Linked DNA regions of Homo sapiens: all the other regions are linked to region 1. Evidence: promoter capture Hi-C in 16 types of primary human blood cells and fetal thymus (Javierre and others, 2016). All regions are on one chromosome and are shown on one strand. The core of a region is centred on a gene start or on the middle of the fragment in contact, and the rest is flanking DNA. Distances in the headings are between cores, read along the strand shown. Region 1 holds the start of FRS3 (fibroblast growth factor receptor substrate 3). Region 2 overlaps TRERF1 (transcriptional regulating factor 1). Region 3 has its middle 6.0 kb from the start of GUCA1B. Region 4 overlaps GUCA1ANB-GUCA1A (GUCA1ANB-GUCA1A readthrough). Region 5 overlaps C6orf132 (chromosome 6 open reading frame 132). Region 6 has its middle 46 kb from the start of C6orf132. Region 7 overlaps TAF8 (TATA-box binding protein associated factor 8).

Region 1 (4,081 bases), core at 537-3,036:
TGGCCTCTAAGACTGGGCCAGGGATTCGTACTGGGGTTGAGGTGAGGGTTTGGACTGTAACAGTTAATATTGCTTCCCAGCACTGAACCCTCCTCAGCACCGCCCCTCCACTCCCACTTCAAATGTCCTGTGCCACCCTTCCCTCCTTCCTGGCTTCACACCCACCTGCTTCCTTCCTCTTCTGTCCTTCAGGTCAGGTTTCCTGTGGAAGGTGGCCAGGATGGGCTGTTCACACCAGGAGTAGCCACTAACAGCACTGCCCCTGCTCCAGGCAGCAAGAAAGGAGGGGGCGTCTGGGGCCCCAGGAGGGGACTTGCACCCTCTTCCATTTTGGCTCTAGTTTGCATAGAATTGTCCAACACAGAAACAACACTCAGAAATCAGGCCTCTATTCCTCACCCTTCCAATCTCCCCAAAGGCAGCCAAACTCCACCTCCACCTAGCACTGGAACACCCTTACTAACAGGCCAGCTGGATTCCTTCCATAATTCCCTTCCCCCTCCCACCTCAGATAAGGGACAGAGCTGAACCCCTTGTCTTGCCTCCGTGCAGAGCCTCCGTGCAAGAGGGCTCAGGAGCTGGACATCCCCAACACCCGCTGCCCTGAAGGGCAGAGCCCGAGAGGACTTAGGGCTTGGGGAGGTGGAGGGATGGGAAGATTTCTGGGGACAGTGGGAGGGAGAAGGAAGGGGAGTGCCCAGTCCCGCCAACTGCCCTCTCGATAGATCCCCAGAGTTTTTCTGGAACTTGGCGGGCCCGCCTCCGGGGCTGGGACGCGGTGTTTCCCGAGTCCGCTGGGGTTCCCGGTCTGGCTGCTGGGATTTTAGGGGAGGGGACCAGGACTCCGCTGGGGTCTCACCCTCGCTGTGCGTCGCTGTCCGGGCAGTTCTGGACCGACTCTGCCGTCAGGCCCCTCACCCGGTCCCCACCCCAAGGCTTCAGCGCCCGCCCCCGTCCGCCCCCGCCCGCCCTAATAGCGCGGCCCTTCCTCTCCCACGCCCCAGCGGCCCCCGCCCGCCCCTCCCCGGCTGGTGGAGAGGGGCGGCTCAGGGAGGGGCCTGGAGCTGCAGATTGGGGGGAGGAAAAAAAAAAGGAAAACAAAACCACATTTATGGGATCTCAGGGTGGAAATGTGCGGGCTCCATGGCCTCTGCCATGCAGGTGCAAGGGCTCTCTGGCTCGGACTGCGCCCGGCAGGCATCCAGCAGACGCCGGGAGCCGCGTTTACGCTGGGTTTTCAACCATTCGCTGAATGGAAACGCCTCGCCGGGCCCGCAGCCCTGTCTCTCCGCAGTTCCCAGGTCTCCCCAAACTCTCCCTGTGGTCTCCCAGCCCCGCTCCTCCGCGTGTTTCCCTTCAGTTCTCTCCCCCTTGTCCCCAGTGGTCCCCCTGGCCCCTTCCCCTCCCCTCAACCCTCTTCCAGGTTCCATCGTCTTGCCCTTCTCCTTTCAGGTCCCTTCAGACCCTCTCCCCTTCCCTTCGTTTCTCGCCCAACCCTCCGTCCCCTTTCCGCTCCCCGGACCACCCCCAACTTTGGTGTCCTCAGCCCCGCCTCCGCGCCCCGCCTCCGCCGCAGGCTCCGCCCTGTCCCCTCCGGGCTTGCTCAGCCCCTGGCCAGGAGCGCCCTCTGGCGTCTGCGCATGCTCACTGCTCCCGACTGCAAAGTCCTCCAAAGGGACCTTCTAGGCTGCGTGCCGGTCGCCCCCGCTCGGGTCCGCCAGCCCGCAGCGTCTCGTTGGTGCTGCCGGTGACCTCCGACCCCGCGGCCGCGGGGCGGGGCGGGGCGGGGAGGCCTTAGCTCCGGGCGGGCGGCGGCTGCTGCAGCGGGACCCGGGAGCGGGGCCCGGCGCCGCCCGGGCCGCGGGGCGATGTGAGTCGGGGCGCGGCGGGGCGGGGACGAGGCGGCTTCACCGAGGCCGCGCCGCGCCGCGCCGCGCCGCGCCGCAGTCTCCACTCCCTCCCTAGGAAGCCCCGGGCGGGCGGGCAGGCGGCGGAGCACCGGGGCTGGGGGCGGGGATCCGGGGACAGCGCGCACCCAGACCTCCTCATTCCTTACGGGCATGTAGAAATTCCCCTTGACAGTCCTGTAGCCTGTCCTGCAGCCTCTGGCTCCCCCAACCCACCTCTACCCTCTCCGCCCTGGACACATCATCGCATCTCCTGGAGCCCTCAGAACCCCCTCATTCACTCAACAAATCTCCTGCTATGCCCACGGACCCACCATTTCTCTTGGATGCCCCCAAATGCTTCCACTGCCCGGAAATTCCTAGGATCCCTCATATCCCCATTCTCCTTGCACTATCCAAAATGCCCACATCCAAAATTCTTGCTCATGTTTCCCCAAACGTCCTCATACGTTTTCAGCCCCCACACCCCCCTCTCACTCCTGCCCCTGATCCATACCTATCCCAGACCAGAGGCCTCTCCCCATTTCCACTCAATGCAGTCCCTCCTCAGTGGGCTATCTGATACATCCTGATATCTTAAGGAGAAGAGATGGTGATAGGGAAATTCAGCCCCTCCCCCATCTTGCACCCTAGAGTTCTTCGTTTCAGTGCCCGCGCCGTGCCCCCGTCGGTGGCTCAAGCCCCAGTATTTTCCCAGCAACCTATCTTTAGTCTGTGCACACCTCCCTGAGCCTGCTTCTTCCTTCCAGAAAATAAGCCAGACCAAGGGGATGGGGTCCTTTTACCTGGAAGTTGTCCAAGGATGCAGGGTGCAAGGGGCCCTGGGAAGTGTTTCTCCAGAGCAGGAATGTGGGATGTCCAGGGTCTGCAGAGTCCTGGCTTGTTGACTTGTCTACCTTGGGCTCAGATATCCTGAAATTTTGGCTTACTGTTAACATTTATGTTAAAATTAGGCCTTTCAGAGCTTGGGGAGCAGAAAATCTATCAAGCTTCCAAATGCGAAATTGAAGCAGCCTGTCTTGGAAGATGAACATGTCAATTTTAGTGAAGTTTGTCTTACGTTTTTACCTCTGCAAGTTATTTAAGCTAGAAGCTCCCCAGTTTATAGATGGTTCCCCCAAAAACTAAGGCCTTAGGTGGGAGTTGGGGGGGGCGTTGACTTAAGTCTCCCAGATACTTAGTAGCAACAAAACTGACCGATATATTGGTTTCCTGAGTCTTAAACCAGTGCTGTCTCTACTATATCACAGTGTCCTTTTGAGAAAGCTCTTTGTAGAGTTAAAGTTCTCTGCAAAGGTAAGGTGATGGTTTTGGTGTTTGTTGTAACAGGACTCAGAGGGAGATCTAAAGTGACTTAAAAGGTCTTTGGTCGTCTTAGACTTCAAACTTATTGATGTTCTTGGTGTCTGTCCCTCTCAGGGCCCGTGGGGCTTGGGATTTGTGCTCCCTTTGCCCTTGATTTTACTTTCTTCATTGGTGTTTTTGTCCCATTAGGGCTGGAACAGATACCCAGGTGGGATGGACTGTTAGGTCAGTTTTCATTAACAGTTGGGGGTGAAGATAGAAGGTTTTGTTAATCAGTGTCTCTGTTTCCTATGCTAGGTGAGCCCCAGGTGTATCCCAGAGGGATCCGGGTGACTTCTCTGCAGACTGTTTGCCATGACAGCCCACCAAGGACGGGGGGAATAAAGTGGGAACCCTTCCCCATGCCCCTCCCACGGTCAGCTCCCCGATGGCCTGGGTGAGGTAAGAGCTGTGTATAGGGGTCAGTTTTATGGCGTTTCCCAAGTTGGGAGGAACAGAGGGTACAGGTCACCTGGTTGTTCAAAGCTTTACCATTCAGCAGGAGTTCTAGAAGGATAGCCAATCCTACAGACTTATTTCTTGTGACAAGTTGCAACCCCTTAAAACTTCTGCTTGGTATTGGTCCATGCATTTCTTGTTCCCTTAGGTCATTCAAGCTTGGGTGGTGTCCTCTTCATTCTAGGCACAGTCCTGACTATTGTGACATATAATCCAAGTACTGGAATCCTGGAGGGGAAGAGCCAAATAGTAAGGCCTCTGGTCTCCCCTTCAGAAAAAGGGAAGGAAACCCAGCATTTTTTTTAAATGAAGAAATATCCACTTGAGGTTATTAAAACTGCACTGTTTTAAATGTTCAGTCTTCTGAATAT
Region 2 (4,081 bases), core at 1,110-3,609, 450 kb before region 1:
ACTACAGCTAGACAGCCCAGTAGGTACTCCCCTTAGCTGATGAGTTTAACAAGCTGGAAGCCAGGACTCATTGGATTCAGGGATATGGATTTACACCCCTTTATAGCGGTGGTTCTGAACTGGGGATGATTTATTCCCCAAGAACATTTGGCAGTGTCTGGAATTTATCATAACTTTTATCATAAATGCGGAGGTGCTGCTAGCATCTGGTAGGGCCAGAGATGCTGCTAAACATCCTATACAACAGAGCCCCCCACCCATCACAACAAAGAATTATCCAGCCCAAAATGATAGTAGTGCTGATGTTAAGAAAACCCAGCTTTATGGCAGGATTTTAAAATTCTGCCAAGATCCTTCTTCTTTTTATCATCTGTATTAAAATTTGGGGGTCTTAAACATTGCTTCAACAATGGGCTACTGATTAAGGCTATCTACAACGTAGAATACGTCAGAAAACCTAATCACTGTCTTTCAAACTGGATTCCTTAGGGTGCTAGGGCTTCCTCGGGGTAGATAGAGCTGAGCAAACAGGCGCAATTCTGGGGCACTGTCTCCATTCTAGCCAGAGCACCTCTGCTTTTAACTTGAGCCTGAGTTTTTTTAGTAAGACCTGATTTCCTAAAAAGGAAGGAGGGAGGGAAAGAGGAAGGAAGGAAGAAAAATGGGAGGAAAAGAAGGAGGTAGTTATCATCTTTAAAAAAGTTTGAGGCCAGGCGTGGTGGCTCACGCCTGTAATCCCAGCACTTTGGGAGGCCAAGGCGGGCAGATCACAAGGTCAGGAGATCGAGACCATCCTGGCTAACACGGTGAAACCCTGTCTCTACTAAAACTACAAAAAATTAGCCAGGCGTGGTGGCGGGCGCCTGTAGTCCCAGCTACTCGGGAGGCTGAGGCAGGAGAATGGTGTGAACCTGGGAGGCGGAGCTTGCAGTGAGCTGAGACCGCACCACCACACTCCAGCCTGGGTGACAGAGCGAGACTCTGTCTCAAAAAAAAAAAAAAAAAAAAAAGTTTGAAAGCTGGTCCAGCCCTCTCATTCCTCAGATGGAAAAAAATAAAGTATACAGAAGGGAAATGGCCCAACAGCTTTAGTTATAGTAGAGCTGGGTCCAAACCCCTGACGTCTTGACTTCTAGACAGTAGCTTTATTCTTTATCCTGTGCCACGTCGCTTCTTCTCTTCTGATTGTAGCAGTGATGAGGTTTTGATTGGCACAGGATCTGTGGTTGTGGTATTTGATCTTTACCTTTTGTAGCATATGCCCAAAGTTTGCTTATATAAAACCCTTGTGCCCTGTCATTAGACAGTTTCAAGTATTCCATGTTTACCACTGAGTAACTAATAACCCTAATTTCCTTTTCAGGACTGTAGATGTCATGTCACTCCCTTTCTTCCCCAGGTGTTCAGCTCCCGACAGGCACTGAATGGCCATGCCCGCATCCACGGGGGCACCAACCAGGTGACCAAGGCCCGAGGTGCCATCCCCTCTGGGAAGCAGAAGCCTGGTGGCACCCAGAGTGGGTACTGTTCGGTAAAGAGCTCACCCTCTCACAGCACCACCAGCGGCGAGACAGACCCCACCACCATCTTCCCCTGCAAGGAGTGTGGCAAGTAGGTGCAGGGGACCGGGGACTGAATCTGAGTTCATGATGGGTAGTCGCTCTATGGGAGCTGGGCCAGGATGGCCTGAGGTTTCTTCAATCAGAAAAAAGAACTTAGACCTCAAAACTCTTCTTCGTGTCATCTTTGGGATGGGTATGTAGTCCTGTTGCAGACTCAGAATATGGCCATTCTGTTATCTTAGAGCCTTGTAAGGATGGATATCTTCAGAGAGTGAACCTGTAAGTTACAAAACTTCACTCTTTCCCAGGAATGGCAGGTGGGACTCTGGTTCCCACTCCTTCCCTTCACACCCAAGCTATGTTCACTAGCATTACTCTGTTTGGATCCCCGCTGAATGATTTGAGAATGGCTCTACAACATCTAATCAGGAACTCTCTGTAACACAGATGGCTCATACAGGGTAATCCTACCACCTTCGCTTACTTCTGTGACTAAGGCAGACATCACTAATCAATCACCACACTTTGCTATCACTTTAAGACAAAGCCTCAATTACTTTTTGTTGTCATGCTTCAAGCTGCACAACCAATTAATCAGAGTTGACACATGAAATAAAACCTATTTGTTATCCTCCCCTTTTAGGTATAATTTAAAAAACAACAACAGCTAAAGAAAAAAAGTAACGAGATAGTAATTATAATAGCTAACATTTACTGAGCATTTACTTTGTTACATGCTTTATGTGTGTGAGCTCACTTAATCCTTACATAGAAACTCCATGTGATACAGATACTGTTTTTTTATCTTTGTTTTACAAATAAGGGTTTAAAAATTAGGTAAAATGACTTGACCTAAATCACAGTGCCAGTAAAGAGCAGAACTGAGATTTGAACCCAGTTTTGTCCGAATGCAGACCTGGGCTTCTGACCACTGCTCTTTCCTTTTGGTTTACTTTGTTTTTTGCTTTAGGTAGAAAATGCCATTGATGGTAAGATGGGTGATTCCCTCCCACAGCCTCCAGTAGAGAATTCCAGTGTACTTCTCAATGAGTCCACCTGACTGGAAGGGTACTACATTGTTATGAATTACATCCTTTAGGAGCCTTGCTGAGTTCCTCTTCCCATAATTCCTAGTGCCTCGAGCATGAAAAGGAGTATTACCTGGGAGAGATGCTGCCCAAGTGGTTTCTGAAACTCTACCACGAAAACATCCCTAGTTACATCAGCAAGGCTAGGTGGGACCTCTACTTATACATCCTCATAGAGTAGAGCAGGCAACTTAATAGTAACTGCTGTTTATCAGGTACTAACTATGTGCCTGGCACTGTTTTAAAGGATTCTTTACATGTTTTAGTCTGTTTTGTGTTGCTACAACAGAATATCACTGACTGGATAATTTATAAAGAAAATAAATTTATTTCTTATAGTTCTGGAGGCTGGGAAGTTCAAGGTCAAGGGGCCTGCATCTGGCAAGGGCCTTCTTGCTAAGTCATCCCATTGTGGAAGGGCAAAGAGAGGGGAGAGAGAGCAAGAGGTTGAACTTGCAGCCTCATACCCTATTATAATCGGCATGAATCCATTCATGAGGGTGAGGCCCTCGTCACTGAAACACCTCCCATTAGGCCACACCTTCCAACATAGCTGCATTAGGGATTCAGTTTTCAACATGTGCTGTTTGGGGGACACATTCAACCCATAGCACATGTACTGATTAATCTTTAAAATAGCCCTATGAGGCAGGTACTTTTAGGAGCTTCTTTTTTACAGGCAGAAACTGAGGCACAGAAAAGTGAAGCCCCTGTTGCAGTTCACAGCGAGCAGCCTAGTGGGGATTCACACCATGCAGGCTGGCCTGGCCTTGTGCTCCTGGCTCTATGCCATGCTGCGTCTGATTAAGCCCAGCTTGATGGCACCCACCAAAGTGAACTGGAACTAGCAGATCACTTCCCCCCATGAAGCACAGGGATGGGAGAGATGGGATTCGGTGTGGGTCTCCTCCACACCCTGCTGTCCTTCCAAGCTGGCCATGATGTCATTTTAACATCACCACCCACCACACACTGGTGCACCATGGAAGAAATGGGCCCCTGGATTGATCTTAAGGCTTTTTTAATTGAAATAATGATGGAACCACCCTCAGCTGACTCTCAGTGATCTCCCGCTTATTTGTCCTGGAGTGGCAGCATCAGGGTATCAGGGTCTTGCCAGTTTTCCCCCAGAGGAGCTAGCACCACCCACTCATTAGGCTCAAACAGGCTACAACGCTACATTCCACCAGGTGGAGACAGAGGATGATTTAACTTAAAAAAAATCAGTATTTCATGTTTCCCAGCCATGTCTCAGTAGCATCTATTAAATGTTTTTTTTTTTGGAGTCTTACGTTGCTTGGAAACTTTTTCTACCAGAAATCCAGTTATGATTTCATGGAAAATACAAATGGTTTCTGTGGCTTTTCCTAACTCAAAATAACATTAGGCAAATGTTCACAAAATACCTCTTAGAGGTGCTGAAATTATGTT
Region 3 (4,081 bases), core at 1,054-3,553, 420 kb before region 1:
GACTGGGAGGAAAAATTAATGAATTAAAGCAAGAAGCAAGATACACGGCACAATTTAGGTGGTCCCACTGCTCAGACTGGTCCTGAGGGAGGGGGCAACACAAGAGTTTAGGCATCAGCAAGGGGAGTCCTACTCGGTCACAAGAACACTCAGATGGAGATGATTCACAGTGGGGCTTCAGGTCCAGCCTGACTAGGGCTCAGAAGACATGGGTTTGTCGATTTTAAGCATATCTTTGCCCCTGGAGCCAGGCTTATGGCTGACTGCCTGCAATCCCCAGGACTCTCTTTCCAAATCCCCTGCTCAATTCCTAACCCTGCCCTCCTTAAATCCTTTCTATTGTTACTCACTTCAAGCTCTCATTTCTCTCTATGGATTCTTAATCCTCTTTATTTTATTTATCTATTTATTTATTTATTTTATTTTTATTTATTTATTTGTTTATTTTTTGAGACAGGGTCTGACTGTCGCCCAGGCTGGAGTGCAGTGGCACAATCTCGGCTCACTGCAACCTCTGCCTCCCAGGTTCAGGCGATTCTCGTGCCTCAGCTTCCTGAGTAGCTGGGATTACAGGCACCCGCCACCACGCCCAGCTAACTTTTGTATTTTTAGTAGAGATGGGGTTTCGGTGTGTTGGCCAGGCTGGTCTCAAACTCCTGACCTCAAGTGATCCGCCCACCTCAGCCTCCCAAAGCGCTGGGATTACTGGCTTGAGCCACCATGCCCGGCTGGATTTCTAATCCTCTTTAAAATGATATATTTATAACTCAGTAGCTCAGCGACATTTATTTATAGGGCAGGTCATGGGCAACTGACCCACATGAAAAACCAATTGAATTTTAAATTCCTCGGCCAGAGGTTAAATCAAGTTATATTTCACTCATAAAATTTCTTAACTTGGGCAGAGATACTGTACTTTAATCAATCTTCAATGCTGCTTAAATAATAAGTGTTAAGAGATGGATGGAGCCTGGCCAACATGGCAAAACACCACCTCCACTAAAAATACAAAAATTAGCTGGGCATTCCAGGTGCTTAGGAGGCTGAGACATAAGAATTGCTTGAACCCGGAAGATGGAGGTTGCAGTGAACCGAGAGTGTTCCACTGCACTCCAGCCTGGGTGACAGAGGAAGACCCTGTCTCCCTGTCTAAAAAAAGAGAGATGGATGGGAATAATACTACCTTCACACCAAGCCAGTTGAGATGCTGCTGTTACAGAGCCACGGCTGCTGATGGGCATGTGTTATCTTAAAGTGTGTTGAGATGGGTAATTGGAAATTAATGGGCTAGATAATCTTCAAGGCCTTTTCCAGTTCTAAAATCCCATTATCATTTTTATCTCAACAAATACCTGCTAATCTAGACACTAAACAGAGTCAAAGAGGAATTGTCTTGTAAAATGAAGGAGTGATAGCTGACGTTAATTCAGCATTGACCATGTGCCAAGGACCTTGCTCAGTTACTCAACAAGTATTTGAGTTTCCTGTACATGCCAAGTACTGTTCTAAACGCTGGGAATTCTGGAATGTATATAGTGAAGTCCCTCTCCTCAAAGATCATAGACTTTAGTGAGAGAGACAGACAAGTAGAGAAAAAAATAAGATAGTTTCAGATGCAATTAAGTACTGTGAAGAAAATAAAATGGGATAATATCAGAATTACTTGAGTGGCTACCTGAGGGGGAGTTGGGAAAGTTCTCTCTGAGGAGGAGGCAGTGGTGTTAACATCTGGAGGAAGAAGCTGGGTGTGGTCACTCATGCCTGTAATCCCAGCACTTTGGGAGGCTGAGATGGGTGGATCACCTGATGTCGGGAGTTCGAGACCAGCCTGGCCAACACGGTGAAACCCCATCTTTACTAAAAACACAAAACCTAGCCGGGCTTGCTGGCGGGTGCCTATAGTCCCAGCTACTCGGGAGGCTGAGGCAGGAGAATCGCTTGAACCTGGGAGGCGGAGGTTGCAGTGAGCCGAGGTTGTGCCATTGCACTCCAGCCTGGGCAACAAGAGCGAGACTCCCATCTAAAAAAAAAAAAAATCTGGAGGAAAAACAGTCCAAGTAGGAGGAACAATACATGCAAAGACACACTGATTCTAGAAGGAGTTTGGTGTGTTTGCAGTGTAGAAGACCATGAAGACAGAAGTAGGCAGGGACTAGATCGTGTAATGCATCATAGGCATGGGGAGGAGTGTGGATTTTATTCTCAGCAAATGGAAAGCTAAAGGAGGGTTTGAGCAGGAGAGTGGCAGGATCTGCTGTATGCTACTGTGGCTGCTGGGTGAAAGAGGAGTGACGAGAGGGCAGGGAGACCAGTTAGGGATCTGCTGCGGTGGACCAGGTGAGATGATGCTGGTCTGGGCGAGAATGTCAGGAATGGAGGTGAGGAGAAGTGGTTTGATTTAGAGTATAGTTTGCAGGAAGAGCTGATGAAATGACCTACTAGTAGATTGAAGTGAAATCTAAAGGAAAGAGCATTCAAGGATAATTCCTGGGTTTTCACCTAAGCGTAAATAGCAGTGCCATTACTGAGGTGGAGAAGAGATAAGGTGGGACTCGGGAAGGAAATCAGTAATTTGGTTTTGGCCTTGCTAAGTTTGCAATCTGAGTATAGATGTCCAGTAGGCAGTTGAATACATGCATCTGGAGTTCCTGGGAGAGGTCCAGGCTGAAGATACAAATTTGGAACCTGCCAGCCTGTAAATGGTGTGTAATGGCATGGGAATGAATGAGATCATCTAGGGAGCAAGTGTGGGTAAACAAAGGAAGAGTACTAAAGACAAGCCTGGAAAGCTCCCAGCTTTTAGAGATTTGGTTAAAAGCAAGAGGTGCTAGCAAAGAAAATGAGCAATGAGTGAGGCTGGAGTGAAATCAGAGGAGTGTGGGTCCTTGAAATGTAGAGTGGAGAAAGAACTTAGTTTGGTGAACTGTGATGAATCTGTGGCAGGTTAGGTTAAAAAAAAAAAAAAAAAAAAAAAAAAAAAAGTAGATCATTGGTGACCACAATAAAAGCCATTTCTGTGGAGTGATGGGGATGAACGTCCAGTTGGAGTAAGTTGAGGAAAGAATAAGAGATTTAAAAAGAGGATGCAAAATAGGTTTGAGAATTTCCCAGTTATCTATTGCTACCTCAAAAAACACTTAACACTTAGTAGCTTAAAACAGTGACTCTGCAGGGATAGTGTCTGCTCCATGTGGTATTAGCTGGGGTAGCTCAGAAGCTGGGGCTGGAGTAGCTCAGAAGCTGGGGCTGGAGTCATCTGAAGGCTCATTCACCCATGTCTGGTGGTTGAGACTGGCTTTCAGCCAGAACCCCTGCATGTGCTCTGGGCTTCCTCACAACATGGTGGCTGGGTTCCAAGGGCAAGTTCTGAGAAAGAGAGCCTGGTGGAAACCTATCACTTTTGATGACCTAGCCCTGGAAGTCACATTGTGTCATTTCTGCAGTTATCTTCAACAAGGCAGCCAGAAAGTTTCCTCCGGGTTGAAGAGAAAGATAATAGACTCCTCCCTTTGATGGGAGGAATGCGTGAAGCCAGAATGATCGTCCTGCCATTTTCTGAAGATACATCTGCCACAAGGGGCTTTGTTGTAAGGGGAGCAAAATTTAGGACAATAGCTGGGCAGGGGATGTGGGCAGGTCAGTTTACCCAGTAGGCACAGTGCCTAGGGCCCAATATTTTAAATTTCTTTTAAAACCAAAATAAAGGCCAAGTGTGGTGGCTCATGCCTATAATCCCAGCAGTTGGGAGGCCAAGGCAAGAGGATCACTTGAACCCAGGAGTTCAAGACTGGGAAACATAGTGAGACCTTGTCTCTACTAAATATCAAAAAATTAACCAAGCATGGTGGCGCACAACTGTAGTCCTAGATACTCAGGAGGCTGAGGCGGGAGGATTGCTTGAGCCCAGGAGGTCGAGGCTGTAGCGAGCCCTGATAGCACCAGTGCACTCCAGCCTGGGCAACAGAGACCCTGTCTCAGGATAAATAAATTAGTTAATTAAAATAAAATCGGAGCCGGGAGCGGTGGCTCATGCCTGTAATCCCAGTACTTTAGGAGGCCAAAGTGGGTGGATCACTTGAGG
Region 4 (4,081 bases), core at 573-3,072, 390 kb before region 1:
GGTTTTGGATTCTGCCTTCAATCATGGAATTGAGGTATATATGAGATAGAGCTGGCTTCTTGTCCAGAGATGGCCAACTGTGGGCTCTTGACAGGGCTGCTGTGTACAGTTATCCAGGCTGTGCACTGCACTTGGCCATCACAACTGAGGGGGTCCAATCATACCATGAGTGTGCTAACATTTGAGGGCACCTGGGTGGATGCAGAGTCTGTGGGCTTCCAAGATAAGCCTTGAACAGCCAGAGAGAACCCCCTCCTACATTAGCCTGCACCAGTACACAGAGACGTGCACACACATACACACACTCGTACACACTCATCCTGTTCTGGCCACACTCTCATGTTCCTGAAGGTTGCATCTCTCCCTTCTTGAGAGCCCTGAATTCATCCTTCCATCTAATTCTGAGCCTCACATCATCACCATCACCTACTAGGGGCACAGGGCAGGGGACATGGAGTGTGCGCCTGGTGCCCTGGGGTATGTGTGAGTGTGAGAGTGCAGGCACACAGGTGCATGGGTGAGCTGCTACCTGCTGGTCCTGGAAAGCTCCCAGGCCAAGCCTGGGGGCCTGTCTATGCAGCAACAGCTTTCTCTGATGCCTGGTGGGATGCGTACTCCCTAGCCACACACTTAAAAGCTGGCTCATTTATGGAACCAGCATTTGGGTGCAGGTGCACTTAACCTGGATGCTGCCAGGAAAGCTTAAAGCCAGCGCTTGCCCTGCCCTGTCTTTTTCTCTTGTTTGCCTTCCTCCTTTACATATGGGGCACACCCAGGTCTCCTAACTCATCTAGAGGGAACCACTGCCCATATTTCTGCTTTCCCCACCAGGGCCTTGGACACTTGGTCAAGTTGTGCACTGATACACAATTTATATGATTTATATAAATAATATATAATTACATGTAAATAGATTTATATAAATATACAATTTATACAACATATAACATATATCAAATACATGTGCATACATATTTCAGAATGGGCTAGGTTATGCTACAGTAACAAACCACTCTAAAATCTCAGTGGCTGAAAACAATACAAGCTTGTTTCTTGCTTACATTACTGGCTGGGTGACCTTGAGCAAGTAACTTAACCTCTCTGGGCCCCAGTTTCCTCATTCTTAAAATAGGAATAATGGCGCCCATCTGATAGGGCTGTTAAGGGGAGTAAGTGGGGCTGGGCACGGTGGCTCACACCTGTAATCCCAACATTTTGGGAGGCCGAGGCGGGTGGATCACTTGAGGCCAGGAGTACGAGACCAGCCTGGCCAACATGGTGAAACCTCATCTCTATTAAAAATACATAAATTAGCCAGGCGTGATGGTGCACACTCCTGTAATCCCAGCTACTCGGGAGGCTGAGGCAGGAGAATCGCTTGAACCCAGGAGGCGGAGGTTGCAGTGAGCCAAGATCGCACCACTGCACTCCAGCCTGAATGACAAAGCGAGACCCTATCTCAAAAAAAAAAAAAAAAAAGAGTATGTGAGTTAATATAAGAAAAGCATTTAGAACAAGGTCTGCCCCAGAGTAAGTGCCCCATAAATCTTGGCTATGATGTTATGATTTTGTATCTATTACAGCAGCATGTCTGATGTGCTGTTCACTACAATCTAGGTGCACTTATACTGCATCTTGGACACAGCAGCATCCCTGGGTTAGAGCCAATCGTGCTCTTGTCCCTTTAGCCCCATTCACTCTGGGCCCTGGACGGCCAGAAGGGCTATGTGTAGGAACAGACATCCAACCTGCCTCACACAGGCCACCTACCAGCTGTAGTCAGGCCCTAGGGAAGGTGGAGGCCTTTGTTAAAGCCTTACCAGATCCAGGCTCACGCCTGTAATCCCGGCACTTTGGGAGGCTGAGGCGGGTGGATCACAAGGTCAGGAGTTCGAGACCAGCCTGGCCAACATGGTAAAACCCCATCTGTACTAAAAATACAAAAATTAGCCAGGCATGGTGGTGGGCGCCTGTAATTCCAGCTACTTGGGAGGCCGAGGCAGGAGAATCACTTCAACCTGGGAGGCGGAGTTTGCAGTGAGCCGAGACTACGCCATTGCACTCCAGCCTGGGCGACAGAGAGAGACTCCATCTCAAAAAAAAAAAAAAAAATTGTTCATAATGAACATATGTTGCTCACAAAATCAAAGAGGATAGTTATTTTTGAAAAAGAGACAAACTGGGACTGTTTTACCTCTACTCCACATGAATTGATTGACGGAAGGTATATGGGGGTGGGGAGCTGGGTTCTCCCTGCTTCAGTCAGCTTCTCCACAACAAGTTAAGGGACGGGGAGAGAAGGACTCCTTCTGTGAACTTGCTTGGGGCCCAGCTGGAAAATGTGTCCTTGCCGAGGACTCTCAGGCCCAAGATTGGGAAATGAAGAGGTTGGGGACAAGGCAGCCGCTCATCTTTCCCTTTCTATTTAAATCCCTCTCACTCTTCATGTGTGAGTACAAATGCCACCTCCTCTGTGAAGCCTTCCCAAATCTCTCTCAAATATCTTCCTCCCACAGCATACTGACATTTTGCTTATGTGTTGTGACAGTTAATTTTAGGACTGGATGAAGGGATTACCCAACAAGCTGGTAAAGCTTTATTTCTGGGTGTTTCTGTGAGGGTGCTTGCCAAAGAGACTGGCATTTGAATTCATGGACTAAGTAAGGAGAATCTGCCTTCAGCCTATGTGGGTGGGCACCATCCAATTGGCTTAGGCCTGGACAGAAGAAAAAGGCAGGGGAAAGGTGAATTCTCTCCCTCTCTCTCTCTCTCTCTGTCCTGGAGCTGGGACACTCTTCTTCTCCTGCCCTTGGACTCCAGGACTTGCACCAGTAGCAACCCCTCCCCACTCTCACGTTCTCAGTCCTTCAGCTTCAGACCCAGAGTTACACCATCAGTTTCCTTGGCTCTGAACCCTTTGGGCTTGAACTGAGCCATGCTACTGGCTTCCCTGGTTCTCCATCTTGCAGATGGCATATTGTGGGACTTCTCAGCCTCCATAAACATGTGAGCCAATCCCCCTAATAAATCTTCTCTCATACCTCTATATATAATCCTATTAGCTCTGTCTCTCTGAAGAACTCTGGCTAATGTGTGTGTTATATTAGTTTTCTATGTTGCATAACAAATAACCACAAAGTCAGCAGTTTTAAAACTACACACATTTATTATTATTATTATTATTATTATTATTATTATTATTATTATTATTTTGAGATGGAGTTTCACTCTTGTTGCCCAGGCTAGAGTACAATGATGCGATCTCGGCTCAGCACAACCTCCTGCCTCCCAGGTTCAAGCAATTCTCCTGCCTCAGCCTCCTGAGTAGCTGGGATTACAGGCATGTGCCGCCATGCCCCACTAATTTTGTATTTTTAGTAGAGACAGGGTTTCTCCATGTTGGTCAGGGTGGTCTCAAACTCCCGACCTCAGGTGATCCACCTGCCTCAGCCTCCCAAAGTGCTGCGATTACAGGCATGAGCCACCGTGCCTGGCCACACATTTATTATCTCACAGTTTCTATGGGCCAGGAGTCCAGGCACAGCTTAGCTGGTCCTCTGCCTAGCGTCTCACAAGGCTGCTCTCAGGGTGTCACCTGGGCTGTATTTTCATCTGGAGGCTCAACTGGGGAAGAATCCACTTCCAACTTATTCAGGTTGTTGGCAGAACTCATTTTGTTGTGGCTATGTGACAAGGGAGCTGGCTTTTCACTTGACATTGCCTGGGGGACACACTCAGGTCATAGAGGCTGCCCTCTGTTCCTTGTTACACCAGCTTCCTCACCACGCTGCTTATTTCATCAAGTCAGCGAGAAGAGTCTCTCTGCAATCTGCTAAAGTCTATATAACCTAACATAATCCACAGAGAGACGTCCCATCACCTTTGCCATATTCTATGGGTTAGAATCAAGTCAAGGGCCTCACCCACACTCAAAGGGAGAGAATTTTACAAAGGTAGGAACAACAGGAGGTAGAAATCACTGGGGTCACCTTAGGGTCTATTATGACATTCACTCTTCTACAATAACACGGACATAGCATTCATTTCTTTCCAGAAGTATTATATAGGCAACTCTTCTTGC
Region 5 (4,081 bases), core at 955-3,454, 350 kb before region 1:
GGGAACTTGGGCAAGGGACTTAACCTCTCTGAGCCTCAGTTTCCTCAACTGCAAATTGGGAATAATAAGGGTACTTCCCCCATGGGGTGGTGAGGGCTTAGAATAGTGCCTTGCTCATAACACAGGCTTAATAGATGTTAGACATTTAAGTATTTAATTAATCAAATTAATTTTCTCTCTAGTTTGGACCTAGCTAGAATGTGGGGAAAGAACTAAATAACTGTCCCAGAATCTTTCTGACCTCAGCTTCCATGGAGATCCATGAGCAGCTTTGGGGCTGAGGGAGGAAGAACATTCCTTCCAACCCTGAACTCTGTGAGCAAAGAAATGCAGAAGACTCAGTGAGGCTCCTCCGCTCGGGGAGCAAGGGAGAAAAGAAGGGCTGGGCGTCCTGTGGCAGCATGTACCTAGCTCTCAGCTCGCCCGGAGCTGGCCCACCCGCCACATTTAACACGTACCCCAGCCCAGGCTGAGAGAGCCAGGTCTGCCTGTTGGGGAGAGGCAGGGAGCCACGTGCCCTGCCATGCGTAAGGCAGTGCAAGTCAGGGGCCATGTTTGACCCCTGCTAGGCAACCTTGATCCAGCCTCTCCCACTCTGGGTTGCTGCAAAGAGGGCTATTCAGCCCCAGGCATCAGGACTCAGAGTGAACCCGAACAAGAAAGCAAAGGGCCCAAAGGGCCGCCTGCCTCCCGGTGGCTCTCCCCAGTGGGGACAGGTGTCACCATGATTTGCAAGTGACACAGCCCAGCTCAAGCTCACAGCCCAAACTCTTGGTGGAAGGAAGTAAGGTGGAGCAGAGAGAAAATGACGATCACAACAATAACCAGCCCTCCCAATTATCATTATTATTTTTTTGAGACAGAGTCTCACTCTGTTGCCCAGGCTGGAGTGCAGTGGCGCAATCTCAGCTCACTACGACCTCTGCCTCCCAGGTTCAAGTGATTCTCCTGCCTCAGCCTCCCGAGTATCCTGAGTAGCTGGGATTACAGGCGCCCACCACCACGCCTGGCTAATTTTTGTATTTTTAGTAGAGATGGGGTTTCACCATGTTGGCCAGGCTGGTCTTTTTTTTTTTTTTTTTGAGATGGAGTTTCGCTCTTGTCACCCAGGCTGGAGTGCAATGGCTCAATCTCGGCTCACTGCAACCTCTGCCTCCCCGGTTCAAGCAATTCTCCTGCCTCAGCCTCTCGAGTAGCTGGGGTTATAGGCACCCACCACCACGCCCAGCTAATTTTTGTATTTTTAGTGGAGACGGGGTTTCACCGTGTTGGCCAGGCTGGTCTTGAACTCTTGACCTCAGGTGATCCACCCGCCTTGGCCTCCCAAAGTGCTGGGATTACAGGCGTGAGCTACTGTGCCCGGCCGCCAGGCTGATCTTGAGCTCCTGACCTCAAGTAATCCTCCTGCCTCAGCCTCCCAAAATGCAGAGATTACAGACGTGAGCCACCACTCCCAGCCAACCCTCCCAATTATTGAGCATAAATATCTGCTAGGCACTGTGCTGATGACTTTTGCACACTTTCTCTCACTCAACCTCACATCAGCCTGCCCAGCAGGGACCACTGTTCACATGTACAAAGATAAAGAGACAGCCTCAGAGAGACCAGTGAGGCTCCCAGGATCCCACAGTTAAGTGTTGGAGCCGGAACTGGAACCCAAGTTCAGCTGGGCTCTAAACCCATAGCCTTGACCCCATAAGGTCCTGCCTCCCGTCCCAGCCAGGAGCTGTTCGACTACTGGGTGTTTCCGGCCAGGGCAGAACCTCAGCCATGGTCTCCTCACAGCCCAGGCAGCCTCAGCCACAACTCTGCTGCCCTCTGGCCCATGGCAGAGCCAGGTTCTCCTGAGGGAGAAGGGGCAGGAGGGGAGCTGCCTGTACCCAGGTTGAAATCTGGGGTGAAGTCTCCTGCTTGGCACCAGGAATTGTTTTTGGAACAGGTTTTTGGATGTTAGATGGTATTAATATTTATGTCAACTCAAATCCTTGAGGGAGTGTAAATCCACCTCCCCCGCCCCGCCCCGCCCCGCCCCCGCCCCTGTCTCCTTCTATGAGGGAGAAATTGTTAGGGAGAAACTCTAAAGTAATCCTATGCATAATCTTGTCATAAATAGGATTCCATTTGGGGGGAAATTTGGTTCATTTAAAGATCAGGTTTGGGTCAATGGAGGCAGACCTGGATTTACCCCTATTTTATCACTGCATTATTTGCATGTGAGTTTGTCAGAAGTTTGTATCTTGACAGGACTGTGGTCCATCTGGGGCTCAGGCCTTGCTCAGAACCTGCTGCTGGGGTCTCACAAGGCTTCCTGGCTGCTGGAATTGCCCCAGGACTCTCTTTCTCTGGAAGCTCCTGGGTCCAGGGGCATCTCCCTTCCTTTTCCAGCTTTCTGAATCCCACCTGGATGTTCCAATGCTGCCTCTGTGGTCCATGCATGTGGCAAGCATAAAACCTCTGAGATCCCGAAGGACTTTTCCAGAAAAAGCCAGACACCAAGGGAGTTTGCAAGTTTCAGAGTGGATGAGACACGGGGCTGTGCCCCTCTTTCTCACTGCAGTCTTGTTCCGAGAGCAAATCATCCAGCCTCCTCTCCAGGCACCCCCTTCACCTCCTCCTCGCCCCTCCTTCCTCAAGGGAAACCAGGATGTTCCTAGCCCTCCTTTAGCTCCTCGACTGAGGAGGGAGCTGCTTCTCAGGAAGGCCTCAGCATCCCTGACCTGTGATCTGAGCAAAGTTCATCACTTCCAATAGGAAATTCCCCAAGGTTGAGCTCTGTTGTCTTTGTTTAGTTTTGGGCCTTGACCTTGAGGCTGGGAAGACCCCAGTTCTGACCTTGAATGCTTTGAGGATCTAGCTGATGGAGATAGACACACGCGCCTCACCTCATGCTGTGCCTCCACCCAGCAGGAGCTAGGCCAGGTCTGAGGGGCCCAGAGAGTTGGCCTGATTGCAGCCACACCTCCTTTTCTTTTCTTTTCTTTTCTTTTCTTTTTTTTTTTTGAGACAGAGTCTCACTCTGTCACCCAGGCTGGAGTGTACTGGCACAATCTCAGCTCACTACAACCTCTGCTTCCCGGGTTTAAGCGGTTCTCCTGCCTCAGCCTCCTGAGTATCCTGAGTAGCTGGGATTACAGGTGCCCACCACCACATCCGGCTAATTTTTGTATTTTTAGTAGAGACAGGGTTTCACCATATTGGCCAGGCTGGTCTTGAACTCCTGACTTCATGATCCACCCACCTCGGCCTCCCAAAGTGCTGGGATTATAGGTGTGAGCCACCGCGCCCAGCCCCACACCTCCTTTTCTTATTTTCTTCTTCTTCTTCTTCTTCTTATTATTTTTTGAGACAAAGTCTTACTCTGTCCCCCAGGCTGAAGTGCAGTGGCGCAATCTTGGCTCACTGCAACCTCCGCCTCCCTGGTTCAAGTGATTCTCCTGCCTCAGCCTCCTGAGTAGCTGGGACTACAGGTGCATGCCACCACACCCAGCAAATTTTTTGTATTTTTAGTAGAGACGGGGTTTCACCATGTTAGCCAGGATGGTCTCGATCTCCTGACCTTGTGATCCGCCCGCCTCGGCCTCCCAAAGTGCTGGGATTACAGGTGTGAGCCCCCGCACCCAGCCCCTTTTTTTATTTTGATAACAAATTTACTATCTTACAATTCTGCGTGTCAGAACTCTGACACAGGTCTCTGTGGGCTCAATTAAGGTGTTGGCAAGACTTTGTTCCTCTGGAGGCTCCAGGAGAGTCTGTTTCCTTGCCTGTTCTGGCTGCTAGAGGCAGCCCACAGTCCTTGGCCAGTAGCCTCCTTCCATCTTCAAAGCCAGCCATGGCAGCTGAGCGCCTCTCACAGCGCATCACCCCACCTCTGCTCCCGTATCACGTTTCCCTCTCTGACCCCTACCCACTCCTCTTCAGACTGGGAAATCAAATCCGATTTTCCAGAGGTGCCTGGTAGCGAGAGGAGCCACCTGGGCCTTCCAACCCGGCCTCAACTACAGCCACTACCCTTCTATATGTTTTACAGAGAACAATTATGTTCTTAGAAAGGATTTCACTGCTTAAAACAACCACAAAGCAA
Region 6 (4,081 bases), core at 1,185-3,684, 320 kb before region 1:
TTCCTTCTCACACAATTGTGTGGCCAGAGTAGCCGGACCAATGGCTCCAAACTACCCCCAAATACTCATCCCCGCCTCACTGCTTGGGCCCCCTTGGCTTCCCCTAGGCCAGCTCACACTCAAGGTCCAGCTTGGATCGGAGCTCCTACAGGAAGCCTTCCCCAGCCCTGCTCTGCTCGGAGACCTCTTCCTCCTCCATACCTACCTCTCCCACTTCTGTGGCAGGCTCTTCTTTATCCTCAGGCTTCAGCTCAGACATCCCTCACCTGCTAGGCCACAGCAGCTCCTGCAAAGCTTCCCACGGTCCCTGCTGCTCTCCCTCCCCGCACCTAGTGTTACTTGGTCTACATCTCTCTCCCAGCAACTTGTAAGCTCCACAACGTAAGGACGCCTCACTCATCACAGTATCCCCAGCATCTGGTGCTGCTCCTGGCACCAGCAGGTGCTCACTATATTGAGTTTATTGATGAATACAAGTTAGTACTTAATCAAATATCATCAAGCACTGTGTAAGTTCCTTGGCTGGGCGCGGTGGCTGACACCTGTAATCCCAGCACTTTGGGAAGGTCGAGAGGGATGGATCACGAGGTCAGGAGTTCAAGACCAGCCTGACCAACATGGTGAAACCCTGTCTCTACTAAAAATACAAAAAAATTAGCCAGGCGTGGTGGTACACGCCTGTAATCCCAGCTACTCAGGAGGCTGAGGCAGGAGAATTGCTTGAATCTGGGAGGTGGAAGTTGCAGTGTGGAACTTAATCTAATGCTGAGGTTATCAGGCTGAGGGAAGGTTTAGTTTTAGGGATGAGTCTCTAAGGTCTCATCATAAAGGTGTCCAGATGCCTTGGAGTGGCTCCTGCCTGGTGGGCTGAGATACTGCATCCTCTAAGTAGAGACATGAGCTAGGATGTTATGGCACCAGGTGAGGGAGTCCTGGTCCTCAAAGGATCTCAGGCAGCCCTCTACACCCCACCAGTGAGCCAGCCACAGGGGCGGCCAGCTCCAACAATCCAAGTGACTTGCACTCTGTTGCTTTTTCCCTTTTGAGCTCCTTTGGTCTTCAGCAAACTTACTTGGTGCCACAGCCTATCTCAGCTGTGGACCAAGGGTAAAGTTTCCATTACATGTGGGCGGGAGAATTGAGAAGGAAAGCACCTCTGGGGGCCAGGGTGGCAGAAGCCAGCCAGGTCCGACCTGTTCACCAGCCCTCCCCACCTGCAGAGCCCACCTTCAAGAGGAAAGCCTTACAGTTCTAGGTTTGGTTTTTATTAAGGAGTGAGCTCCCTGCACAAGGTTTTGAGGGCCTAGCAGGGGTCTAAGCACAGAGTGGGGACCCAGTAGACTTGCTGTTTTGAATCTCTTCCATCTCAGCATAGGATCATTAGCCCTAATGCTACTCTCAGAAGTGGGACACTGGCTTCTCATTTTCTTTTCTTTCTTTCTTTCTTTTTTTTTTTTTTCCTGAGGCAGGGTCTTGCTCTGTCGCCCAGGCTGGAGTGCAATAGTGCCATCATAGGTCACAGCCTCCAGAGCTCAAGTGATCCACCTCAGCCTTCCTGGTAGCTGGGACTACAGGCATTCACCACCAGGCCTGGCTAATTTTTTTTTTTTTTTTGAGATGGAGTCTTGCCTTGTCGCCCAGGCTGGAGTGCAGTGGTGTGAGATCGGCTCACTGCAACCTCCACCCCCCATGTTCAAGCAATTCTCTGCCTCAGCCTCCTGAGTAGCTAGGATTACAGGCGCCCGCCACCACACCTGGCTAATTTTTGTATTTTTAGTAGAAACAGGATTTCACCATCTTGGCCAGGCTGGTCTTGAACTCCTGACCTTGTGATCCACCCGCCTCGGCCTCCCAAAGTGCTGGGATTACAGGCGTGAGCCACCGTGCTCTTCCTAATTTTTGTCTTTATTTTTTGTAGAGACACGGTCTCGTTAGGTTGCCCAGGCTGGTCTTGAACTCTTGGGCTCAAGCAATCCTTCTGCCTCAGCCTCCCAAAGTGCTGGGATTACGGGCAAGAGCCACCGCACTTATACTCCCTTCTCATTCTTGAAAATGGAATATTTTCAGTCTTGTCTTCTACAGACTGAGCCTTCTGACTCCTTTCAGCTTTCCTCACTGCAGAGAAGCATCTCCTGCCGCTTTTCATTGTTGCCTTAGTTTATTTTCTGAGCCATTCAAGAGGGTTTGGTAGGCTCCTACTTTCTCTGTCTCTCTCTGGGCTACCCCATCTGTCATCTTCCTGCCTTTTGGTTCACAACTTTCCAGCATTTGTTCTAATAGCTAAGGGCAGCACAGAATTCCACCAATGCAATTCAACACTGCGAGGGGGCGCCACTCAGTACAAGCCAAGGAACCTCGCAAGAGGCTCACAGTTGAGTGTGGAAGACAGACGTACACACAAATAACTGGACTATGGAGCAGGAGAATGCAAAGCTCTTCCACCCAGGAGAGCCCGGTGGCCCAAGAGAGCACGGGACCACATGGGGCACTGTTGGGTTGTCCTTGTGGGTGTCCTCTCTTGCTGGCCTGTGACCCTTGTGGGAGCACGTGCATGAGCTGGGCAGAGGAATGAGGGATGCCCTTTGTGTGCTTATTTTTCCTACAGAGTGAGTTGTGGTCTTTCGGTGACCTCTCTTGGCCATTTAAAGCTGCCCTTGACATTCACTTTAACTGGATTCTCCAGGGAGAGGAGAGGGGAGTGCCAGAAGGCACCTGTGTAATTTACCCTGGTGTCCAGCACCGCAGTCTTAGCCTGGCATCCCCGTGTGTGCATGTGGAGTGGGCATTAGCCAACAGGTGGCACTTTGCTCACAAGTGCCTGAAGTTTGTGTGACTGGTGGGGTTCAGGTTCAGACTGAGATCCATCTGAGGTTGACATGGCTTCTCCTAGGATCCAGGCACAAAGCTAGGTGCTGTCTGGCACACCAGTCATTCTCAAAACTCAGAAGTGCATCAGAAGCACTTGTCAAAACACAGGTGTGTGGGACTTGTTCCAAAGCTCCTGATTCAGTGGGTTTGGGATGGGGCTGGGGAATTCACATGTCTTTCTTTTTTTGTTGTTTTTTGAGATGGAGTCTCACTCTGTCTCCCAGGCTGGAGTGCAGTGGTGCGATCTCGGTTCACTGCAACCTCTGTCTCCTGGGTTCAAGCAATTCTCCTGCCTCAGCCTCCCGAGTAGCTGGGATTACAGGCACCCACCAACATGCCTGGCTAATTTTTGTATTTTTAATAGAAATGGGGTTTCATCATGTTGGTGAGGATGGTCTCGAACTCCTGACCTCAGGTGATCCACCCACCTCGGCCTCCCAAAGTGCTGGGGTTACAGCGTGAGCCACCACACCTGGCTGGGAATTCACATTTCTAACAAGTTTCCAGATGAGGCTGCAAGTCCTGATGGTACAGGGATGGCACTTTGAGAACCCCTGCTGTGCAGTGTCATGTGTCATCACCTCATCTCCCTTAGGGCAGATAGTGCCACTCCCAGCTTACCAAAGAAGAAACTACAGCCTCCACAGGCCAAGTGACCTTGCCAAGGCCACACAGCTGGAGGGTGCTAGGGAGCCAAACTGCACCTGCTGCACTGCCTTTTGCCCCCAGGGCAATGTGGCTGGGGTGGGTGTGACAGCATCTCTCCAAATTTTTGTTCCAGAGAGGGCAGTAAGTAGAGAGGGCAGGCTTGGGGTAAGCAGTACTGGGAGGTGGTCATAGAGTCACTGTTAGGCTAACAGTCATTCCTTGGGTGGCCATAATGTTTTAAAGACACTTTCAGCAAGGCACAGTGGTGCATGCCTGTAGCCCCAGCTACTTGAGAGGCTTGCTTGAGCCCAGGAGTTTGAGACTGGCCTAGGCAACATAGTGAGACCTCATCTCAAAAAATATTTAAAAATAAAAATAAGATACTTTTGCTTCTATCTATCTATCTATCTATCTATCTATCTATCTATCTATCTACCTATCTTAGAGACCGGGTCTTACTGTGTTGCCCAGGCTGCTGTGCAGTGGCATGACCATGGCTCACTGAATCCTTGAACTCCTGGACTCAAGTGATCCTCCCACTCAGCCTCCTGAGTAGCTGGGACTA
Region 7 (4,081 bases), core at 1,163-3,662, 300 kb before region 1:
TATAATCCTAGCACTTTGGGAGGCTGAGGTGGGCGGATCACTTGAGGTCAGGAGTTGGAGACCAACCTGGCCAACATGGTGAAACCCCATCTCTACTAAAAATACAAAAGTTAGCTGGGTGTGGTGGCACATGCCTGTAATCCCAGCTACTTGGGAGGCTGAGGCAGGAGAATCTCTTGAACCCGGGAGGTGGAGGAGTTGCAGTGAGCTGGGATCGCTCCACTGCACTCCATCCAGCCTAGGCGATAGAGCAAGACTCTGTCTCAAAAAGAAAAAAGTCACATACTTTATGATTCAATTTATAACATTCTTTCAATAACATTAGAGATAGAGAACAGAGTAGTGGCTGCCAGGAGAGAAGTGGAAGAGCAGAGAGGTGGATGTGATTGCAAAGAGACAGCATGAGGGAGAACTGTACTGATGCAATGGTTCTGTGTCTTCACCATTTGTGTGCTGGTGGTTACACAAATCTACACGATGAAACTGCACGGAACAACACACACATAACACACACGTGCACATGGTGAAAACTAAATAAGCTCTATGCATTGTACTAATATACCATCTACATTGTACACTGAAACTGAATGCAAGGGTTTTGATATTGCACCACAGTTATGCAAGATGCTACCACTGGGAGAAAGTGGGTGATGGGTACATAGGATCTCTCTCAACATTTTTTGCAACATCTTGTGAATCTATAATTATTCCAAAATTAAAATTTAAAGAAAGATCAATCAGAGATACGTATAGACACATTTAGATTAAATGACACAGGTCTGGAGTTTGCATTTAAAAATACTCCAGAAGAGCCAGGCGCGGGGGCTCACGCCTGTAACCTCAGCACTTTAGGAGGCTGAGGCAGGTGATCACCTGAGGTCAGGAGTTGGAGACCAGTCTGGCCAACATGGTGAAACCCCATCTCTACTAAACCTACAAAAAAATTAGGCCAGGTGCGGTGGCTCATGCCTGTAATCCCAGCACTTTGGGAGGCCGAGGCGGGCGGATCATGAGGTCAGGAGATCGAGACCATCCTGGCTAATGCAGTGAAACTCCATCTCTACTGAAAAATACAAAAAATTAGCTGGGCGTGGTAGCAGGCACCTGTAGTCCCAGCTACTTGGGAGGCTGAGGCAGGAGAATGGCGTGAACCTGGGTGGCGGAGCTTGCGGTGAGCTGAGATTGCACCACTGCAATCTTGACAATCCACTGCAATCCAGCCTGGGCGACAGAGCGAGACTCCGTCTCCAAAAAAAAAAGAAAAAATTAGCCAGGCGTGGTGGTGGTGGTAGATACCTATAATCCCAGCTACTCAGGAAGCTGAGGCAGTAGAATCATTTGAACCCGGGAGGCAGAAGTTGCAGTGGGCCAAGATTGCACCATTGCACTCCAGCGCGAAACTCTGTCTCACACGCACACACACGCACACACACACACACACACACTCCAGGAGGAAAGAAAATAAAGGACAAAAAGTGGGAGAAACAGATGAAACAGAATCAACAAGCTACTGACAAGTGTGGAAGCTTGATGAGGCATATACAGGGGTTCATATATTTTGCTCTCTAATTTTGTATTTGAAAATTTCCAAAATAAAAGTTTTACTAAGTTCCCAGGTGTGCTTAGGCCAACACAAGGGCTAAGCCTGACTTATTTGTCCACATTGCTGTTAACTTTTGAACACAAATTAAGTTCAAAGCTTACAGTTCTATTTATTTACAAAGTTTTTATTATGAATTTTTATTGAGATTTTCATAAACATTTTTAATCTGCATGTTTACTACTTTTGGCCTCTAAGAAGTCCCATAAAGTTATAAAAAATAGAAATTTATAAATACACATTGAGAATTTTGCATTTTTATACAGGGTCAATGTTTCAAGTTGTCTAACCCTTTCCCTGTCTCCCCTCAGAACAAAATTATAAGAGTATAGCCTCTGAGGCCAGGCGCGGTGGCTCATGCCTGTAATCCCACCCACACTGGGAGGCCGAGGTGGGTGGATCATCTGAGGTCAGGTGTTCGAGACCACCCTGGCCAACCTGGTGAAACCCCGTCTCTACCAAAAATACAAAAAAAATTAGCCGAGAATTGTGGTAGGTGCCTGTAATCCCAGCTACTCAGGAGGCTGAGGCAGGAGAATCCCTTGAACCCAGGAGGTGGAGGTTGCAGTGAGCCGAGATCACGCCATTGCACTCCAGCCTGGGCGATAAGAGTGAGATGCCGTCTCAAAAAAAAAAAAAAAAGAAAAGAAAAAAAAAGAGTATAGCCTCTGAAATCTCAACAGCAGAAATAGCAGCCCTTTTCCAAATCCCACCTCTAACTCAGCACATCTGCATTCAACAGGTGCTTACACTGGATAACAACAACAAATGGAAGCTGCAGAAACACTGACTGGGACAACACCTCCCAAGAGCAGTGAGAACAGCTGGGATTGGCCACGGCTTGAATGTGGGGCTGTGTTCATAAACTTATCAGGCCAAGAATCGCTAAGAACTGAATCACAAACCCTGAGAAGGCCACATAGGCCAGTCTAACTGCTTCGATCTAGGAGAGTTTCACGTTACTACAAACCTGAAAAACTCCTATTTAGTCCAGTTGGGGAATCCAATTTTTTTTTTTTTACTAGCGTCCCCTCTTCCGTTCCTGACAAGCAGCTCTTTCCTTACACAGTACAGTGAGGCCAGAAGAACATGGAGCCTGCTGTCAAGTCCCCAAGTTTTTCAAGTTTCCAAATTCACCAAGGGAATGGAAGACTAAGAGATGGGCTGGGCACCGTGGCTCACGCCTGTAATCTCAACACTTTGGAAGGCCAAGGCGGGTGGATCACTTGAGGCCAGGAGTTCAAGACCAGCCTGGGCAACATAGCAAAATCCCGTGTCTACTAAAAAAAAAAAAAAAAAATTAGCCAGATGTGGTGGCGGGCATCTGTAATCCCAGCTACTCTGAGAATTGCTTGAACCCGGGGAGTGGAGGTTGCAGTGAGCCGAGGTAGTGCCACTATACTCCAGCTGGGGCGACACAGCGAGACCCTGTCTCAAAATAAAAGGAGTTGAACTGTGGAAGCCAAAGGGGAATACATGAAGCTAAATATGGACGTTAGGATTCTAATTTGGGAAACAAGCTTATTCATCCAGTGTTCACTTCCACGTGTTGTTACATTTTTCTTCCTTGGATTTAGTTTTAAAAACTCTTCCTTAGGAGACCAGAAAAGCTATCAGCATGCCCAGCATCTTCCTTAAAAACTTGTTTTCTGGTTTGTAGGGTATGTTAAGAATGAAGTTGTTCTCCCCACAGGATACAAATTGGTTGGACAGACTCAGACCTGCTTCTTGCAGAACGCCTCAGCTTGGCTCACTCCTGCCCATCCACCAGCCTTCCAGCTGACCAGCCGTTTCTCAGCTTTCAGAATACAAGATGAGGCCCAGCCCTCAACACCCCACCCTCACCCCACCAAATCCTTTCCTATTGTTTACTTTATCCTTTTTTTATTTTTTTGAAATGGAGTCTCGCTCTGTCACCCAGGCTGGAGTGCAGTGGCACGATCTCGGCTCACTGCAACCTCCGCCTCCCAGGTTCAAGTGATTCTCCTGCCTCAGCCTCCCGAGTAGCTGGGATTACAGGCATGAGTAACCACACCCGGCTAATTTTTGTATTTTTAGTAGAGACGGGGTTTCACTATGTTGGCCAGGCTGGTCTCGAACTCCTGACCTCAAGTGATCCACCTGCCTTCGCCTCCCGAAGTGCTGGGATTACAGGCGTGAGCCACTGCGCGTAGCCCCTCTTTCCTACTGTTTAAACCCCATGGCTCCTCTGTCAAGTCCCAGCATAATAGAGCCGACGCTCTAGGCTCTTGTCAGAGAAAACCTCTTCTTCCAGAAGGGGTAAGACTTGGCAGTTCCCAAGCACACATTCCTCACAGGGGCAATAAATGGTAAATCTCTCAGGAGGAGAGTGCTGCCCCGCTTCAGGGAGCTTTCGTCAAATGCCGACGGGAGGACAGGTGCAGCCCCGACATGTCGTTCTTCTTCACAGTGATGCATCTGCTCAAGACTCCTGACTCCTGCCCACCCCAAACAAAGCTG

The links. The method cuts DNA at HindIII sites, captures the fragments that hold promoters and counts their contacts. A CHiCAGO score of 5 or more calls a contact.
Region 2: a fragment that was not itself captured here is called in contact with the fragment with the promoter of FRS3 in region 1 in 1 of 17 cell types (total B cells); the score reaches 5.1 in total B cells.
Region 3: a contact is called between a fragment that was not itself captured here and the fragment with the promoter of FRS3 in region 1, in 10 of 17 cell types (naive CD4 T cells, endothelial precursors, naive CD8 T cells and 7 more). The highest score is 9.0, in naive CD4 T cells.
Region 4: a contact is called between a fragment that was not itself captured here and the fragment with the promoter of FRS3 in region 1, in 15 of 17 cell types (total CD8 T cells, naive CD8 T cells, naive CD4 T cells and 12 more). The highest score is 18.4, in total CD8 T cells.
Region 5: a contact is called between a fragment that was not itself captured here and the fragment with the promoter of FRS3 in region 1, in 1 of 17 cell types (erythroblasts). The highest score is 5.1, in erythroblasts.
Region 6: a contact is called between a fragment that was not itself captured here and the fragment with the promoter of FRS3 in region 1, in 1 of 17 cell types (total CD8 T cells). The highest score is 5.2, in total CD8 T cells.
Region 7: a fragment that was not itself captured here is called in contact with the fragment with the promoter of FRS3 in region 1 in 9 of 17 cell types (erythroblasts, megakaryocytes, total CD8 T cells and 6 more); the score reaches 8.8 in erythroblasts.

Annotation. Positions count from the first base shown.
Region 1 is chr6:41,777,605-41,781,685 of GRCh38, reverse strand. FRS3 (fibroblast growth factor receptor substrate 3) reads left to right here and starts at 1,786. Exons shown (of 7, transcript NM_006653.5): 1 at 1,786-1,870; 2 at 3,510-3,653. It overlaps PRICKLE4 (prickle planar cell polarity protein 4), which reads right to left and starts at 904. Exons shown (of 8, transcript NM_013397.6): 1 at 860-904; 2 at 166-336. RefSeq lists silencers at 1,121-1,190, 1,471-1,880, 1,911-2,060. The HindIII fragment of the contact is 6,259 bases long and covers 1-2,898 here.
Region 2 is chr6:42,230,211-42,234,291 of GRCh38, reverse strand. TRERF1 (transcriptional regulating factor 1) reads left to right here. Exons shown (of 18, transcript NM_001395490.1): 17 at 1,364-1,611. All of the region lies in intron 1 of LOC105375061 (a long non-coding RNA gene), which reads right to left. Among named protein-coding and RNA genes, the nearest start is that of MRPS10, 14 kb to the right of the region's middle. The HindIII fragment of the contact is 7,864 bases long and covers 1-4,081 here.
Region 3 is chr6:42,198,895-42,202,975 of GRCh38, reverse strand. No RefSeq gene overlaps it. Among named protein-coding and RNA genes, the nearest start is that of GUCA1B, 6.0 kb to the right of the region's middle. RefSeq lists a cis regulatory region at 3,020-3,706. The HindIII fragment of the contact is 4,638 bases long and covers 1-4,081 here.
Region 4 is chr6:42,169,046-42,173,126 of GRCh38, reverse strand. The region is part of intron 1 of GUCA1ANB-GUCA1A (GUCA1ANB-GUCA1A readthrough); the gene reads right to left. Among named protein-coding and RNA genes, the nearest start is that of GUCA1A, 2.3 kb to the left of the region's middle. The HindIII fragment of the contact is 1,549 bases long and covers 1,048-2,596 here.
Region 5 is chr6:42,131,776-42,135,856 of GRCh38, reverse strand. The region is part of intron 1 of C6orf132 (chromosome 6 open reading frame 132); the gene reads left to right. Among named protein-coding and RNA genes, the nearest start is that of C6orf132, 8.8 kb to the left of the region's middle. The HindIII fragment of the contact is 7,031 bases long and covers 1-4,081 here.
Region 6 is chr6:42,094,720-42,098,800 of GRCh38, reverse strand. No RefSeq gene overlaps it. Among named protein-coding and RNA genes, the nearest start is that of C6orf132, 46 kb to the left of the region's middle. The HindIII fragment of the contact is 4,276 bases long and covers 297-4,081 here.
Region 7 is chr6:42,078,535-42,082,615 of GRCh38, reverse strand. It overlaps TAF8 (TATA-box binding protein associated factor 8), which reads right to left. Exons shown (of 9, transcript NM_138572.3): 9 at 1-4,081. Among named protein-coding and RNA genes, the nearest start is that of TAF8, 30 kb to the right of the region's middle. The HindIII fragment of the contact is 1,421 bases long and covers 1,702-3,122 here.